Regions from separate parts of the Homo sapiens genome. Here region 2 is linked to region 1. The links are contacts of gene promoters, found by promoter capture Hi-C in human tissues and cell types (Jung and others, 2019). All regions are on one chromosome and are shown on one strand. Each heading gives the region's core, a stretch centred on a gene start or on the middle of the fragment in contact. The rest is flanking DNA. Distances are from core to core; before and after follow the strand shown. Region 1 holds the start of PSMB4 (proteasome 20S subunit beta 4). Region 2 overlaps GABPB2 (GA binding protein transcription factor subunit beta 2).

Region 1 (2,700 bases), core at 185-2,684:
ATTGAAATCTGTCCTTTCCACTTTAGTGTCCGGCTTTGTTTATCTTTGACAAAATTCACCAGTTTGATTCAAGACAGTTTCCAGCCCCTGCTATGGAGTTACACTGAGAAGGAAACCCCTGGAATTTAGTTTCACCCCTACACTTCCAATGGAATTTTTCTGTTTCTTTAGAGGTGGGCAAGGGCCCTTGACAATAAGGAAACTTTCAGACTTGTCTAAGGTCCCACAGAGAGTGCTTGATCCACCTGAGCTATCACACCCCACAGGGTATACACAAGTGTATTCTTTTTTTTTTTTTTTTTTTTTTTTTTTTTGTGACAGGGTCTCGCTCTGTTGCCCAGGCTGGAGTGCAGTGGCGCCACCTTGGCTCACTGCAACCTCCCTCGGGTTCAGGCGATTCTCCCACCTCACCCTCCCAAGTAGCTGGAATTACAGGCCTGGCTAATTTTTTGTTTTGTTTTGTTTTGTAGAGGTGAGGTCTCACCATGTTGCCAAGGCTGGTCTTGAATTCCTGGGTTCAAGTGATCCTCCCGTCTTGGCCTCCCAAAGTTCTGGGATTACAGGCATGAGCCACCGCACCCGGCCCTGATTCCTTTTTTTATTCTAGCTTCAAGATTCAGTTCTACCGTTATCGGCTGTGTGACTGGGTAAATCACTACACCGCAAGCCTCGGTTTCCTATTTACCAAATGGGTCGAATAATGCCTGCCACATGGGGCTGCTCTGAGGAGTACAGATGTAAGAGATCCTGTGTTCACTGATATTTTCATGTGGGCTTTTTGATAATGATACAAAAGGAACATGAGAACTGTGACTTCTAGGCCGGGCGAGGCGGCTTACTCCTGTAATCCCAGCACTTTGGGAGTCCGAGGCAGGCGGATCACCTGAGATCCGGAGTTCGAGACCAGCCTGGCCAACATGGTGAAACCCCATCTCTAGCAAAAATACAAAAAATTAGCCAGGCGTGGTGGCAGGCGCCTGTAATCCCAGCTACTCGGGAGGCTAAGGCACGAGAATCGCTTGAATCTGGGAGGCGGAGGTTGCAGTGAGCCGAGATCGCGCCACTGCATTCCAGCCTGGGGGCCAGAGCGAGACTCCGTCTCAAAAAAATAAAAAATAAAATAAAAAATTGTGACGTCTCACTCAGGATCAGCGTCTTTAAGTGGCCACCTCCCCACCCCACCTTCATGCCTCCCTCCTCCTTGAATCGTGTGTTAGAACGCTGTGATCTGGTCCAAACTCCACGGAGATGCGATGCGATGCGAAGCGATGTTGGGCAATTTCAACTCCCTGTCTCGGTCGCCACCTAGGATTACTGCATGTTCAGCTACGACCTCATCAACATGGCTGCTGGAAGTCGTCTACAGGAAAAAGAAAGAAATGACACTGAAGGATCACTTCCGCTTCCGTTGGCGCAAGCGCTTTCATTTTTTCTGCTACCGTGACTAAGATGGAAGCGTTTTTGGGGTCGCGGTCCGGACTTTGGGCGGGGGGTCCGGCCCCAGGACAGTTTTACCGCATTCCGTCCACTCCCGATTCCTTCATGGATCCGGCGTCTGCACTTTACAGAGGTCCAATCACGCGGACCCAGTAAGTTCTCGGCGCTTTCGTTTGCGTAGCGGGAGGGACCGTGGGGCCTGGTGCTGCCGGCTGGTTTTGAGAGCCCGGGAAGGTGAGGCGGGGACCCCGGGGGCGCGCGAACGGCAGGGGAGCTCAGGGCGCGGAGTCCTGGAGAATGCAGAATAATTGGAAGGAATTATAGAAAATCAGAAGCGCAGCTCAGTGCGCGGAAAGAGGGCGCAGTCCATCCCCCCTCTCAGCTCCCACCGTTCTCACTCTTTAGGAACCCCATGGTGACCGGGACCTCAGTCCTCGGCGTTAAGTTCGAGGGCGGAGTGGTGATTGCCGCAGACATGCTGGGATCCTACGGCTCCTTGGCTCGTTTCCGCAACATCTCTCGCATTATGCGAGTCAACAACAGTACCATGCTGGGTGCCTCTGGCGACTACGCTGATTTCCAGTATTTGAAGCAAGTTCTCGGCCAGATGGTGTAAGTCATCCAGAGAACAGGAGAGTGGTTCCCAAGTAGAGAGGGGAGTCCCCTGTTTTTTATTCCCTTCGATGGGATGGGGGGACTTGTTGCAGCGGGGGACTGGAAGAGTTGTTGGAGGTGGGCGATCTGTGTTTGCAATAAAGTTTTTGGCATTAGGTGTAAAATGGGGGAAGGTGTGGTAACTTCTTTTGGGGATGGGTGGAGACCCCGACTTAATTCTCTCCCTTTTCTCACAACCAATTCCTTTTAAGGATTGATGAGGAGCTTCTGGGAGATGGACACAGCTATAGTCCTAGAGCTATTCATTCATGGCTGACCAGGGCCATGTACAGCCGGCGCTCGAAGATGAACCCTTTGTGGAACACCATGGTCATCGGAGGCTATGCTGATGGAGAGAGGTTCATATGAATACAAATAACTTATTTCCTTTACCACCCAACCTAGTACCTGTGTAGTATCTCTTCTGTCTCTTCTCCCCAAGTGAATCCCACTTTAACTCAGACCCCATGGTCCCCTTCTTCAGCTAAGATGAATCTAAGGTGAAATGAGTTTTGACCCATTGTGTCCTGTTAGCTTCCTCGGTTATGTGGACATGCTTGGTGTAGCCTATGAAGCCCCTTCGCTGGCCACTGGTTATGGTGCATACTT
Region 2 (2,700 bases), core at 106-2,605, 300 kb before region 1:
AGGATTCCATCTCAAAAAAAAAAAAAAATTAATAGGACATGAAGTGTTGAAAGCATGATAAAAGTAAAGACAGGCAAGAAAATATTATAATATTGCATAATAAATAGATATCTAGTAAGTGCCATGGGAGCACAAAGGAGGGAATAGTGGAATCTGAACTGAATATTGAAGTAGGCAGAGAAGTGAGAAAACTATATTCTAGCCTAGAAAAAGAGCAAATCAAAGACACAGAGGTGTGAAAGAACGTGGAATGTTCAAGAAAAAGTAGTTGAGTGATGAGAGAATGGGCAAAGGAAGTAGAGTTTGGGAGTGGCAGATGCTAAGCTTGAAAGTTAGGCTGGATTCTGAATGTAGGGATGCTTTACAGCGTGTGAAGGAGTTTGAACTATTATGTGGGCGATGCATTTGGATAGAAGTTTTTAAATAGAGGACTGATATGACTAAATTTGGTTTAAAAAGATGATTGTTTGGAATGTGGCACACAGATGAGAGAGACACTTAATGCTAAATAACTATACGGTGACTTTCATTAGGCCAGGCAAGGGCCAATGAGAACTTGAACCAAGGAAGTGCTACTATTTCGCCACGTAGCAGTACTACTCTTCCCTCCTCTGTGCTCCCATAGCACTTACTAGATGTCTGTTTATCATGTAATATTGTAATATTTTATTTCCTATCTTTAATTTTATCGTGCTGTGAACACTTCATGTCCTAGTGGAGGATAAAGGAAAAGGGCAAATTCAAGAAGGAATTTAGGCCAGGCATGGTAGCTCACGCCTGTAATCCTAGCACTTTGGGAGGCCGAGGTGGGTGAATCCCCTGAGGTCAGGACTTCAAGACCAGCCTGGCCAACATGGTGAAACCTCATCTTTACTAAAAATACAGAAATTAGCTGACTTGGTCGTGGGTGCCTGTAATCCCAGCTACTTGGGTGATGGAGGCAGGAGAATCGGTTGAACTTGGGAGGTGGAGGTTGTAGTGAGCTGAGCTGAGATCGTGCCACTGTACTCCAGCCTGGGAGACAAGAGTGAGACTCTCAAAAAAAAAAAAAAAAAGGAATTTCACAATATCCAAAGAATGGATAACCTGTTTCATTTGAAGCTCTTAGTCAAGGGGATAATTATATATGAAAAACAGTCATTTCTGGCTGGGCGTGGTGGCTCATGCCTGTAATCCTAACACTTTGGGAGGCTGAGGAGGGTGGATTGCCTGAGCTCAGGAGTTCAACGCCAGCCTGGGCAACTCGATGAAACCCTGTCTCTACTAAAATACAAAAGAAATTAGCCGGGCATGGCAGCGTGCGCCTATAGTCCCAGCTACTTGGGAGGCTGAGGCAGGAACCCTGGAGGCGGAGGTTGCAGTGAGCCGAGATCGCACCACTGCACTCCAGCCTGGGCGACAGAGTGGGACTCCGTCTCAAAAAAAAATAAAAAGAGAGAGAGAGAGACAGAGAAAGCAAGCAAGCAAGCCATTTCTGCTGCATTTTCAGTATTTTTTTTTAATTGACAGGTGGTCTATATACTGGTTAGTCCCTTGAACTTTCAATTCTTTGTTTAGAGCCCTTTCATAACTGGACTTTTTAAAGTAGTGATTATGTTTGTAGAAAATTGCTTCTGAAAGTAATAAAGATAAGCTACTTTTCACCAAAATTGAACAGATATCCCTGGAAGCAAAAGTACAGCATATGGAGCGAGACTTTAAAATCTGGCACTTATTTATTTGCTTGTTATATATTCTCTCAGGAATTTTTTCAATGGCCGAATGGAACAAGTAGTTGGACAAAACTCTAGAGAATATTGTTCTCTATAGATACTCTGCAGGGATCTCTTGCTAGCACACTGACTTGTAGATAATTAATCATAAAATGTTAGTGCTGGAAATTACTTTTTAGGCTATTCAGGTCAACTCCCTCATTTTTCTTTTTTCTTTTTTTGAGACGGAGTCTCACTCTGTCGCCCAGGCTGGAGTATAATGACACCAACTTGGCTTACCGCAATCTTGGCCTCCTGGGTTCAAGCAATTCTCCTGCCTCAGCCTCCCGAGTAGCTGGGATTACAAGCACCTGCCACCACGCCCAGCTGATATTTTTGCATTTAGTAGAGACAGGGTTTCACCATGTTGGCCAAGCTGGTCTCAAACTCCTGACCTCAAGTGGTCCACCCGCCTCAGCCTCCCAAAGTGGTAGGATTACAGGCATGAGCCACCGTGCCTGGCCTGACTCCCTCATTTTTCAAATGAAAAAAACAAGATTCATAGAGGTTGATTGAATTGTCTAGAAGTTTTTGCAAATGATACACCTTTGCTTTCCTGAAGTAGGAACAAGCTTTGGAAAGCAACCTAACAACTCTGTTGGCCTGGTCTGAAAAAAAATGGTGGTCTTAATGAGAACTCTGATCTCCCTGGGACATTGTGTACCGGAACTAGTTATAATTGATAGAGCATTGGGATGGGAGTGGAATATGCTGTTCAGTAACTGTGTAACTAAAGCTAATAAGTGTTCTTGGGCTGGGCACGGTGGCTCAAGCCTGTAATCCTACCACTTTAGGAGGCCAAGGTGGGCGATTTGCCTGAGCCCACAAGTTCTAGACCAACTTGGGCAACATGGCAAAACCCTCTACTAAAAATACAAAAAATTAGCTGGGCGTGGTGGCGTGTGCCTGTAATCCCAGCTGCTCGGGAGGGTGAGTCATGAGAATTGCC

Evidence for each region. The method cuts DNA at HindIII sites, captures the fragments that hold promoters and counts their contacts. A contact is called where the count stands out against the background at its distance.
Region 2: a contact is called between a fragment that was not itself captured here and the fragment with the promoter of PSMB4 in region 1, in 1 of the 25 tissues and cell types used here (hippocampus).

The regions. Positions count from the first base shown.
Region 1 is chr1:151,398,139-151,400,838 of GRCh38, forward strand. PSMB4 (proteasome 20S subunit beta 4) reads left to right here and starts at 1,435. Exons shown (of 7, transcript NM_002796.3): 1 at 1,435-1,589; 2 at 1,843-2,049; 3 at 2,304-2,450; 4 at 2,626-2,700. The coding sequence starts at 1,450. RefSeq lists enhancers at 792-1,514, 1,115-1,164, 1,515-2,236 and a silencer at 2,005-2,162. The HindIII fragment of the contact is 13,788 bases long and covers 1-2,700 here.
Region 2 is chr1:151,094,997-151,097,696 of GRCh38, forward strand. All of the region lies in intron 4 of GABPB2 (GA binding protein transcription factor subunit beta 2), which reads left to right. Among named protein-coding and RNA genes, the nearest start is that of GABPB2, 26 kb to the left of the region's middle. The HindIII fragment of the contact is 4,570 bases long and covers 1-2,700 here.